Regions from separate parts of the Homo sapiens genome. Here all the other regions are linked to region 3. The links are contacts of gene promoters, found by promoter capture Hi-C in blood cells and fetal thymus (Javierre and others, 2016). All regions are on one chromosome and are shown on one strand. Each heading gives the region's core, a stretch centred on a gene start or on the middle of the fragment in contact. The rest is flanking DNA. Distances are from core to core; before and after follow the strand shown.

The links. Contacts are between HindIII fragments. The CHiCAGO score rates a contact against its expected background, and 5 or more counts as called.
Region 1: a fragment that was not itself captured here is called in contact with the fragment with the promoter of ATG4C in region 3 in 3 of 17 cell types (total CD8 T cells, non-activated CD4 T cells and naive CD8 T cells); the score reaches 6.8 in total CD8 T cells.
Region 2: a fragment that was not itself captured here is called in contact with the fragment with the promoter of ATG4C in region 3 in 1 of 17 cell types (non-activated CD4 T cells); the score reaches 7.3 in non-activated CD4 T cells.
Region 4: a contact is called between the fragment with the promoter of MYSM1 here and the fragment with the promoter of ATG4C in region 3, in 1 of 17 cell types (naive CD4 T cells). The highest score is 5.2, in naive CD4 T cells.

What each region holds. Positions count from the first base shown.
Region 1 is chr1:67,681,759-67,684,831 of GRCh38, reverse strand. No RefSeq gene overlaps it. Among named protein-coding and RNA genes, the nearest start is that of GADD45A, 1.9 kb to the left of the region's middle. RefSeq lists a cis regulatory region at 1,730-2,222. The HindIII fragment of the contact is 1,492 bases long and covers 541-2,032 here.
Region 2 is chr1:67,426,755-67,429,543 of GRCh38, reverse strand. All of the region lies in intron 1 of SERBP1 (SERPINE1 mRNA binding protein 1), which reads left to right. Among named protein-coding and RNA genes, the nearest start is that of SERBP1, 2.3 kb to the left of the region's middle. RefSeq lists an enhancer at 1-605. The HindIII fragment of the contact is 686 bases long and covers 1,062-1,747 here.
Region 3 is chr1:62,782,824-62,785,896 of GRCh38, reverse strand. It overlaps ATG4C (autophagy related 4C cysteine peptidase), which reads right to left and starts at 1,765. Exons shown (of 11, transcript NM_032852.4): 1 at 1,624-1,765. RefSeq lists a silencer at 1,285-1,579 and enhancers at 1,555-1,734, 1,855-1,914, 2,015-2,064. The HindIII fragment of the contact is 3,523 bases long and covers 600-3,073 here.
Region 4 is chr1:58,698,598-58,701,456 of GRCh38, reverse strand. It overlaps MYSM1 (Myb like, SWIRM and MPN domains 1), which reads left to right and starts at 1,395. Exons shown (of 20, transcript NM_001085487.3): 1 at 1,395-1,472. The coding sequence starts at 1,405. RefSeq lists enhancers at 1,221-1,630, 1,841-1,900. The HindIII fragment of the contact is 3,791 bases long and covers 1-2,650 here.

The DNA.
Region 1 (3,073 bases), core at 37-2,536, 4.9 Mb before region 3:
TTCATGTCTTTTGTTTTAAGGGGTGGCTATTAAAATCTATTTCCAGGGTTAATGCACTGAAGTCTAGTAATTATTAGTAAGCAGGTTACATTAAAAAAGTGTCTCCAGACCTCCGGGGCAAAGTTTACCTCAGAAGTGTTGTTTATCTAAGTCTAGGCGAAGCTGCTTATTAGCAGTAGTATTATTTCGGTGCCCTGATGGCTGGTTTGATTTATTTTTGGAAAGCTGCAAGGGTTGGAAGCTGAAAAAAGAAAAACCAACCCGTTTGTATTCAGGGATGGCAGGGAACCAAGTTAGAATCTTTTCCACAGAAAGCAGAACGGTTTCCCACCTGCCCGGTGTAACTGGGAAATCGTGAGCTGGTCTGCGTGGGGAGCTGGTGACCACATGTGGGAATCCCTGGCAACCCAGATTCTCCTTTCTCAAAGAGCCTTGCCCAAACAAGGATCCTTCTGGACGCCCACCAGCTGAGAGACAACCATCTGACACCCACACAGCCCACAAGTCTAAATTCAAAATGCTCTCGATATGCCCTAAGCTTCCTTTCCTAACGTATGTATGTCGTTACCTTCCACAGAGAGCCTCCTATGATCTCACTGTGAATTATTGATGTTAGATGCTGAATCATGAAGCTGTAACTATAGGAAGTTTTTAGTCATATGCTAAAATTTCACCTTTGAGATAATGGCAACTTGTAGGTGGAAAGCAGACCTTTAAAACTGCAAATGGTAGTTACACATTTTTGAAAAACAAACTTTAATATATAGACTCTCACTGAGTAGTTCAAAAGTCCCTTCCTTTGTTTTATGGTTTATGCAATAAAAGCAAAAACATTTCTTAAACCTACTGAAGTCATCAAAAGTGGTGAAAATGGCTCCCACATGCTTGCATTCAAAACAGTGCTTGCATTATTAAGGTTGCTGTACAGCCAAAGGTCACAGAAGTAATTTCTGCAAAGGTACCTGGAAGTTTTGCACCCTTATGTTTTTATCACTCTAGACAAAATATTCTCCAGCTCTCTTGATCTTAATTTGGTGGAAAAGAAAAGTGATAGGTTTTCTGGTTCATTTATTTGAGTTGTCATTTTGCACTCATTTTTTCACTGTGTTGTCAGCCATGGACAACATTTGAGTAAAGAAATGGTCATGGTCAGTGCATAATTCACCTAAGCATGACTATGTATCTCATATCTATGCCTTAAATCTTAACATTTGATGTCTTTCTTAAAGAATTCCTCAACATTGAAATTTAGGTAGGTTACCGAAGCATTTTCAGTTTTGCAGACAAAACCTGAATTACACAATCTAGCCTGAGTCATCATTTGGCGATTGTTAATATGTTCCGTGGAACTCCAAGGTTCTATCCACTAGGCATTTCTTAGAGGTTCTTGGGAAGAAAATGTGATCACAGCAAGCTGACAAAGAATTAGGGAATCATGTGAGTTTCTTGACAGCAAGGACTTCATCAGTTTGGTGTCCTCAGCTCCTAGTACAATACCTGCATTTAGTAGAAGCACAGTCAAGGTTTATTGAGTTGAATAGAATTTGAGAGTTAAATAAGATATCAGAATCCTGCAGTCCTGTGCATTGCATGAATTCTAACATATTGCACATTTAACGTTAGTTCAAAAACACTTTTGCCTGTCTTCTTCTATACCAAGAACTGTACAATTCCTGGTCCTTTGCCTTTAAAGAGCTTAGGCTCTTATTGGTATGTCCATGCTTGAACTGGATTTTGGGACAAAATAGTATGCACTGTCATCAGCTAGCTATGCTGAAAGTCCCATGACTTCAGTCATCTGAATGGAGGCTGTAGGACAGTAGAACCGGTGTATTGTTTACACCAATTCAAATGAACCACAGTCCTAAAGTGCCCCACCCAAGTCGACTATATCCAGTAAAAATGTGATATCAAATGGTTACTTCTTATTATAGGCTTAGTCCTCCACTCAAAAATTATACTGCATGCTATATTTGACTTCATCAGAAAGTTATTTGCCCAAGTATTTTGGGGATTTTCTCTGAGATAAGCTTGGGCTTCCAGTATGCAAAAATATTCATTTGTCATACTTTCTGACTCAGATACGTTACATCATTTTGCCTGATTGCTGAGTATACCTAGAATGTTTTCTCAGTGATTATCTTCAAAGTTGGGCCTCATGACTGGAAGTAAAAACTGCATTTAGCTACACAGTTAGATTGTAGTTACACATTAGAATGGACATAGTTGATTTATCATTAACTGTTTATTAGTCCTGGAGGACATTGATAGTCAATGGTAAATCAGAGAAATTTTCCTATATCAATATTATATATATATATATATTTCTTTATAATCAGTGTGATAACTCCAATATGTGATGTCATTTTAAAAACCACTACAGGTAACTCTGACAACTGCCAAGTACACAGGAGTAGAATGCTCTTGTAGTAATGTTTGTAAAGATACCAAATGATTATATTTAGAAATCATATGGAAATATATACTCAAGAATTGTTCAATTATTTTAGCACTGCTACTTGCTTTGCATATTAAAGATCTTTTTGATATTTTAGTCATGCTTATCCTACATACATTCCTACTACTGGTTCCATAATGCAGAATTATTCTTTCTTTCTTTCAAAAAACAATCAATGCTTTAACATCTGAAAGAAATATAATGCTTGTTATTTCAGTATTAGATCATTGTCCACATCAAAGGAGAAGATCAGTTCAACTATGATGGATGTATTTTCCACCTACCTAGAATTGTATTGTATTATTTTTTCTTGTTAAAAATCATAAGGTTCCTGGTCAGGTGCAGTAGCTCACGCCTGTAATCCCAGCACTTTGAGAGGCTGAGGAGGTCGGATCACCTGAGGTCAGGAGTTCAAAACCAGCCTGGCCAACATGGTAAAACCCCACCTCTACTAAAAATACAAAAATTAGTTGGGGCCAGGTGTGGTGGCTCACACCTGTAATCCCAGCACTTTGGGAGGCCAAGGCGGGTGGATCACCTGAGGTCAGGAGCTTGAGACCAGCCTGGCTAAGGAGTTTGAGACCAGCCTGGCTAACATGGTGAAACCCCAGCTCT
Region 2 (2,789 bases), core at 155-2,654, 4.6 Mb before region 3:
GTTGTTTCAGGCTCCTGTCCTGCCGTCTTGTCCCACGACGGCGCGGAGTATCCCCGCTGAAAAGCAGGGGGTCGTTCCAGGCCATCAGACGTGTGGAGTAAGCTGCAGGTTGGGGTGCCGCATGTCCTTTATTTGTTTCTCTTCCACCTCTCAACTGTTAGGACTTTCTCATAACTTGCTGGGGTGAGTTGAGCCGTTGGGAAATGGAGGAGTTTGGCCACACTCGATTAACCAGGAGCGGGAATTATGAATGAAGACTGGTGATTGCAGGACATCCCGAGGAACGTCCTCGAGTCACGATCCTCTCTCTCGACTCCCCAAACTGAATCTTTCACGTGGTGGGGTCTGGGCCTCGTGGGTGAAGTGAGTGCAGAGGCTGTCACAGCGTTAGTCGCAGCAGAGCTCTTTAGAGTTCGCAGTTTTTTTTTTCCACCACATGTGCGTGAAGCATGGTCAGAGTTTCACTGGCGGTTAATAGTTGTTTCTAGGGCACTGTGAGTTTCACAGGATTGTCTTGATTTTTGCATTCGCTTTACCAGTTTGTTGCGGATGAAAAAAAAGAGCAAGCAGTTTGGAGATAAGAACGTGCATGATCAATAGCAAGCAGGTGTTGGACCTAAGGTCTGAATCTTTAAAGCTGCATTTATATGTTGAAAGTTGAAATTACCCCTTCCTGCCACGTGCTTCTCTGAAAGGAGTTGTTTCTCTTTAGCTTTAGTTGAATTCTGTAACAGTGAACTAATTTTAAAAATCAAAACAATTTTCTCGTGGTAGGATTTGTTTTAGGAGGGTTTTTTTTTTTTTTTTTGAGGACTTTTGTGAGGCTCGGAATGAAGAACCTCGGTCCTAGGTGGTGAATAAAAGAAAATAATTAATTCTTGTGGTAAAATTATAGGTTGAGGAAAAATACAGTTGGAGTATTAGAAAGCATGTATATCACTTAGGCCAAGTATCTCTTCAGCCAGTTAAGCTTTATGGCAATCTAGCACAATTAAATAAATCATTTAATTCGTGTGTTAAGTAACGCTGACTTGTGTAATTATTTAAACTATGCTTAAGCTTAAGAAAGTACACGAAAAAGTTGAATCTGACGAATAATGTGTACCAGGTAGATGTGTTCACTCATTTTGAATGTTCAAAACATGAAGCATGGTTTAAATGCCTGAGTTATTTTGATCATGAAGCCCATCTATGAAATAAGCTCTTACCTGAAAAGTAGTATTTTAAGTTAACAAATGTGGGGAATGATTTCATGAAGTTAGAACCAAGACTTAGGTTCACCGTTCAATGAGTCTTTCCATGGGAAAACTATTCCATGTTAGCAATCAGCATTTTCCTTAGGTCAGTATTTCAGAGCACTACTGTTAAGTTGCATAAAATACAAGCATGTAAAATACAGGAAAAGTGTTGAATGGACAATACCCGTTTTGAGATTCTACTGTCCTGATTACTGGGAATAAATCTGTAAACAAAGTCGCTGCATGTAGTAGGAAGGTTAACCTGATTGTGTTCTGTGATTTTGATAACACATTGTGACATAATACTTGACATACTTTAGACAGATATTTAATGTTTATGTTTTATGAATTAATTTTGTACATTCTCTTGCCCATTTGAAGAACTTGAGAATTGACAGCAGAATGTCATTGAGAGTGTAGACCAGGGATTTTCTAAAAAAGAATGAATGCCTTGAAACTAGTGCAGTTAGTGAGCTTGCAAGTTATAGATAAGTATATCAAAAGAAGCTTGCATTTTTAAATGTCAGTCTTTTTCATTAGGTAGGTTTAATACGTTTTTAAGATTCTGTAAACTTGATATTGGGTGGGGACGCCAACTATTGTTCACTTGGGTGTGTTTGGCTTGGATATTATTGCAAGGACTGGTTCCATAACTCCACCCCAGTGCACTTTATTACTGATGACATTTATTTAAATACCTTGGTGTAAGGTCTAATATTTGTAGTCTATCTTGAGTATTTACAGGGAATGAACTTCAAAATTCTATTGAAGAGATTGATAGTTACTGTTTGGCTCCAGTTAACAGGCAGCAGAACAACTGGGTGTGTCTTGATGGTGTTCTACTTTCTTAGAAAGAACCAAAGTGAAGCAGCTTAAAATCTTGTAAAACCAATTCCTCAGCTGCTTTATGACTTTGTCAGAAATTGGGAATTAGAGCATACCAACAATCTTAAAGTCATTAATTTAACCATCAATCTGTTGATCCTTATGGGCACCAATAATTTAAATTGGTTGCCTTTGTGGGGTTTCAGACATTACAGGAAAAAAGTAGTAAAGGGGGAAATTAGTAAATGCTTCAGCTATCACTTAGTGTCACAAGTTTTCTTATTTCTTACATGTTGCTTAAAAGCGGTCTTAACGTGTGTGTATTTGGTTTTTAAAGATTCTTTGAAAATAAAGATAGTTGTTAGGGCAAATTTTTTAGAGGACTCTCTCCATGCATAATAAGTAACTGTTTCCTAACTTGGAAGTACTTAGGGATGTGGGAGTGTGTACAAACATATATACACTTACATGCTATAAAATTTTAAACTTTAATAGGGGAAGATGGCCCTTTTTGTGTGCCTGTAGCTAAGAAGACCAAAAGATGACACTTTTTCTGGTTAAATGGCTGTTTTAAACTGAAGTGATGTTCTCTAATAATCCTAAATGCCATATTTTCCTTTCAGATTTGTAATTTTATAGAATTATGAGTCTTAATTGCATTTTTTTTTCAGATTAGATAGAATAACATAGTGCGGCCCTCACTTTTGTGAGGGGCCATATCTAGTG
Region 3 (3,073 bases), core at 516-3,015:
TCATTTTTTTCAATAAAAAATTATATGAGTAAATTTATTCTGAAATATATTTCGCCCCAAATCTTAAGCATGGCTGAAACCATTTCAGCATTTTGTGCATTAATTAGGAATAATCCCAATTTAACATTGTACCAGTATTAATATTTATATTTTACTGACATGTATAGATCATACTTGATAGCTTAAAAAAGAATGATAATCTTAGTATAAGAACCTCTTTAGTGCAATAATTGGAATAGAAAACGAGCTGCAAACTCATTTGAGTTACGTGGTTCCCCAGAAAGCCAGAAAATTTCTGCCTTTTTATAAAACATTAGTGAACAGAATACGATGCTGTTCACCAGAACCATCAAAACATCTAGAAATACTTCATAACCAATCACCATAAATACATTTTTCCAAATACTTGAATCCTATTTTAAAGAAAAAGAGCATTAATTAAATGGCTTTTAATGACTTTTTGCTAAATTATACAATTCTTTAGATGGGCCACTTTTTGACATGTGGTTCTAAAAATTTTATAGCGAATGAACTGGTAATTCAATATAGCCTCAGATTATTGGACTAAATAGAAACTCTTCCTGTTCAAAGAAGAAGCTTTATCAATTTGAAACTCAGAAAATACATAGACTTTACCTTTCAAAGCCTTTCCACTCCCTCTGGGTATTCTCAATGGCTCATAATCTAATTACAAGTCACAAGCAAGCAAGAAGATCATTCCCTTGTCTCTTTCTGCCATCAACTGACACAAAATCATTGCCAAAAACCCACCGGGGACATATGGTCCGAGCAGGAAAACATAAGAAAACTCCTAAGTAATTCGGATATAAAAAGATGTAAGACGAGGTATTCTTCTGTAACTATAGGGTAGCAGTGAGCCCCATGTGGGTAAATAACCAATACAAAACGAAAAGGTAAGCCAAAGAAATCACAAGAAATATAAACTCAATAAGCAGTGATGCTGAGTTGACCGCTGAAGGTTCTCATATATGAATATAGTCATCATATGTAAGAATTTATTCTACACCTCCAACCTCAAAAGCCCTTAGATGTGGGTAGGGTTGGGAGAGTTCACGGTGAGCGGGAACCAAATGAAGTGAATGAACGTTAATATTTAGATGGAAAGGCATTAATATATGCAAGGCAGTGTGTTATGGCTTGAAGCAGTAACAAACACCAAAAAGGGAGAAAGAGGCTAGGAATGAGAACAGAGAGACAGTGGGGATCCAGTTATTATTATTATTTCCCTTTTTTTATTTTTTAAACGAGGAAAAACAGGGCCGACAGAGCACTGGCATGAGGAGGGGTCAAATGGATGCGATAGATCAGGGGAAAGAGTCTTGCCTGCAACATCTAAGAAAACCACAAGGAAAGGAGGAACAGCTGCCCACAGTTAGGCTTACGGTTTATCTCTGCAACCCAGGACAAAGCGAGGAAGAGTTAGAAGACAAATGACACTAGAAAGGAGAGACAAGGAAGGCGCCAAAACCCTCAGAGAACCCAGATGGTTGGCCACAGGGTCTTCACTGAAGGCGGACCCCCGCAAGAAACCCAGTCATTCGGGGACCAGAGACGCTAAGTCCCAAACTTCTTGACTCCTTTAGCCTCAAGCCGATCCCTCACCGAAAGAGAAGGACTGGAGAACTGTAAAAATGTGCAGGAGCCACCAACCCGGCAAATGCTCCAGCTCTAGCAGCAGCCGCCACAAAACCAGCCCGCACACACGCAGACGTTCCGACCTCAGCGCCGCAGCTACAGGTACTTTGAGCACCCCGGCCACCGTAGTAAGAGGAACCGCCTCCGCGTCAAATCCAACAGATCAGCCACTTCCGGGATACGAAAGCCTTGCGATTGGCAGTAGCGATAGCAGCGGCGTAAAGGCCTCTGCTATGCTTACTTTATCCATCCCTTTTTCCCACCTGTTCGCCACCCCAAGCCGCTAATCCACCAATGCAGCAAGCGCAGAACCAAGAGAAAGTATCCGTCTGTGAGCATTGTCTCTCTGATAGACAAACCACATTACGGCTGCCATAAATTCCTCTCGAGCACTTGGACTTCAACTACCAGCAGGCCATGCAGCATCACGCCCTTGCCTCTGGCGTAGGAACTGCAAGATCCAGCATGCATTGCGGCCCTCCTTCCTCGCACTCAGGACCAAGATAGAGCCAACCCAAGCCTCACTTTGATTTAAAAAAAAAAAAAAAAAAAAAGCCAGGATGCCTTCTTTTCCTGTTGTGAAGGAACTCTAAGCCAAGCCATTATTAGGACTGTAGGTTATTTATAAAACATCAAGGGATATGTGCACTCATTTTCCATATTCAGATTATTTTCAAGCATTAAAACACAGGACAGTCGGGCGCGGTGGTTCGCGTCTGTAATCCCAGCACTTTGGGAGGCCGAGGCGGGTGGATCGCTTGAGGTTGGGAGTTCGAGACCAACCTGGCCAACATGGTGAAAGCCCGTCTCTGTTAAAAAATTAAAAAATTAGCCGGGCGTGGCGGCGGGCGCCTGTAATTCCAGCTACTCGGGAGCCTGAGGCAGGAGAATTGCTTGAACCCGGGAGGCAAAGGTTGCAGTGAGCAGAGATCGCGCCACTGCACTCCAGCCTGGGCGACAGAGCGAGGCTTTGTGGGGAAAAAAAAAAAAAAAAGAAGGAAAAGAAAAAGAAAGAAAGAAAAAAGGACGGTCCGAAGATGCTTTTTATAACGTGGAAATTTTTGGCCAGGCGCGGCGGCTGACGCCTGTAATCCCAGCATTTTGGGAGGCCGAGGCGGGCGGATCACTTGAGCCCAGGAGTTCCAGACCAGCCTGGCCAACATGGTGAAATCCCGTCTCTACTAAAAATATAAAAAATTAGCCGGGTGCGGTGGCGCGCGCCTGTAGTCCCAACTACTCAGGAGGCTGAGGCGGGAGAATCGCTTGAACTCGGGAGGCGGAGTTTTCAGTGAGCCAAGATTGTGCCTCTGCACTCCAGCCTGGGCGACAGAGCAAGACCCTGTCTCAAAAAAGTAAAAATAAATAAATAAATAAATAAATAAGTGGAAATTTTTATCTTCACTCCTAAATGATGTCA
Region 4 (2,859 bases), core at 146-2,645, 4.1 Mb after region 3:
TGAGATGGAATCCCGCTCTGTCACCCAGGCTGGAATGCAATGGCGTGATCTCGGCTCACTGCAACCTCTGCCTCCTGGGTTCAAGCGATTCTTGTGCCTCAGCCTCCTGAGTAGCTGGGACTACAGTTGCCCACCACTACGCCCAGCTAATTTTTGTATTTTTAGTAGAAACGGGGTTTCACCATGTTGGTCAGGCTGGTCTCGAACTCCTGACCTTGTGATCCGCCCTCCCTGGCCTCCCAAAGTGCTGGGATTACAGGTGTGAGCCACCGCATCTGGCTGTCAGTATCTAATTTCTTGAGAAACTATAAACTAGACAGAAGTGGTGTTTATCCTCCAATTTCTAACAACATGATTGTTACATGGTGAGCACTCAGTAGAGGGTCAACAAAGCCTGGATTCTACTCCTGGCTCTGTCTTTGAAGCTACCTGTCCTTGGACAGTCATTTCAGCTCTCCAGGCCTCAGTTACCTCACCTGTAAAGTATAACTGGTGATATTAGCTCTGCCTACCTCACTGGGACACTGTAAGGATTAATGGTCATGAGCGTGATTTTTAAATTGCAAAGACGTCTACAAAATAAATTACACAATCATAAGTTATATTCTTAAATATTTGTTGAATTTTAAAATAAAAGTTGTTCAGCACTTAGGTGAAATGCTGAACGACTTCACATAAGTGCTGCACGACCCTTTTCTTTAAAAAACAAAGAGAGAGACTTAAATAACCAGCAGGTATGCAACCTTCAGTTCACAAAGCGGGTCTAGCTTGACTTTTTCATCAGTCCAGAAAGATACTGCTGTTATCCCCATTTTATCAGTGAGAGCAGTGAGGTCCCAAAGAATGTGTGCAAGAACAGAAGCTCTTAGAAGCTCAGGAGGGCCCGGGCGCGGTGGCTCACGCCTGTAATCTCAGAGCTTTGGGAGGCCGAGGCGGGCGGATCACCTGAGGTCGGGAGGTCGGGAGTTCGAGACCAGCTGGGCAACATGGTGAAACCCTGTATCTACTAAAAATACAAAAATTAGCCGGGCGTGGTGGCGCATGCCTGTAATCCCAGCTACTTGGGAGGCTGAGGCAGGAGAATCGCTTGAACCCGGGAGGTGGAGGTTGCAGTGAGCTGAGATACGCGCCATTGCACCCAAGCCTGGGCAACAAGAGTGAAACTCCCTCTCAAAAAAAAAAAGCTCAGGCGTGGGCCACTTCCCAAGGTCTCTACATGTCAACAAGTTAGAAAGGACCAAGCCCCAGGCCTCTGGGGGCGCCTTTGCTCTGGAAACCCCGCCTCCCGGCACGGGAGGGGCCGGACGACGCTTCAATCCCGCCCCGTGACGCGTTAGGCCCTGCCCCCGGGCCATCTTCGTCTCGCGGGATCTCTCGGGAGGACGGACGGGGTCAGGTCCCATCATGGCGGCTGAAGAGGCGGATGTGGATATCGAAGGGGACGTGGTAGCGGCGGCGGGGGCACAGCCAGGGTGAGGCTTAGAGACCGGGTCTCTCTGGGGCGGAGAGGGGAGTGGATTGAAGGAGCGGGCCCTGGGAAAGCTGCAGGTCCGGCAAGGGAAAAGGGAACAGAAGACTGTCCCCTGGGCCAGGGTCTCTTGTTGGCCTGGGAGGCACCTCGCCCGCCGGCTTGTCCCAAGCCCAGCGGGCAGGGCGGTTACCTGGAGCTCAGGTACTCCTGGGTCGCTTTCACCTTTTGCCGGATGCTGTGAGGGCACCGATTTCGCCTACCACATTGCGTTTGATTTACATTTAGATTCCTTCTTCCGTTCCCTCCTTTTCAGGATCTCATCGACAGTAACTAGAACAAGAGCGGCTACGGACGAGACCTGAGGTCAGGGACTCTTGTTCTATGGCTTGCTAGCCGTGTGACCTTGGGCGAGTCGTTTCATCCCTTCTTCCACATGGGGATAGTTGTAAAACTTCCCGAGAAGCAGGTTGACTTAAATGGGCCAGGTTTTAGAGTTGGACAGTTCTGGGTTTTCCTTCTGCATTTGCTCGCCCTACCAGTTAATAGCAATGTGACCTTGGGCAAGACACTTAACTTGTCTGAGCCTCAGACTGCTCATATTTAAACTGGGAGTCATGATATGTAATTGGGAGGATCAAATGAAATGATTATGAGATATGCTTTAGCATACGGTAGGTGCCCTCTGAATGTATTCTTTACCATCCTGTTACCCTCGGGGACAGTACTGTGAGAATCCAGTAAGGGATCACATTTTTTAAAATACCTGTTCCAGCAGAACAAACAGCCCAGTGTGATTTGACACAGAACCTCCTTTGACTCCTTGCTTTCTGAATCAAAAATGAGTCTCCTTTTAGTCATGAAGAGTCCTAGACTAGCCAGGAATCAGAAAGCCTGAGTTCTAAAGTCAGCCAGCTATGTTGTTTATAATTATGTACAATTTCCTTAGAACTGTATTAGCTTGAACCATATGAAATTGCCAATATTTAGACCATTTTTGTTCTATAAAGCGGCAACTTCATGTAGTTCAGCCTAATATTAGGGCCTCTGTGAACAGGGGAGAAGTACTAACCCAGCGCTTGAGGCACTAAGATAGTGTGTTTAGAAGTGTATCATGAACTCTAAAGCCCTATAAAGACGTGAGGGGTGATTAAACTCATATGGTCATTGTCCCTCAAAGCTTTGCAGATGAGTAGGGAGCCCTTAATAACAATACTTGTTGACATTCATTTAGTGTTTAAATCTTGACCAAGTGCTTTTGCATGTTTGATTTAATTTACTTTTCGCAACAAGTTAATGAAATAGGTTGGCAGGGATACTTATCTGCAGTCTAGAAAGAAATGAGCTGGCCTTGGAAACACTGAAGATTGGTCACCTGAGGGCATTGGCTG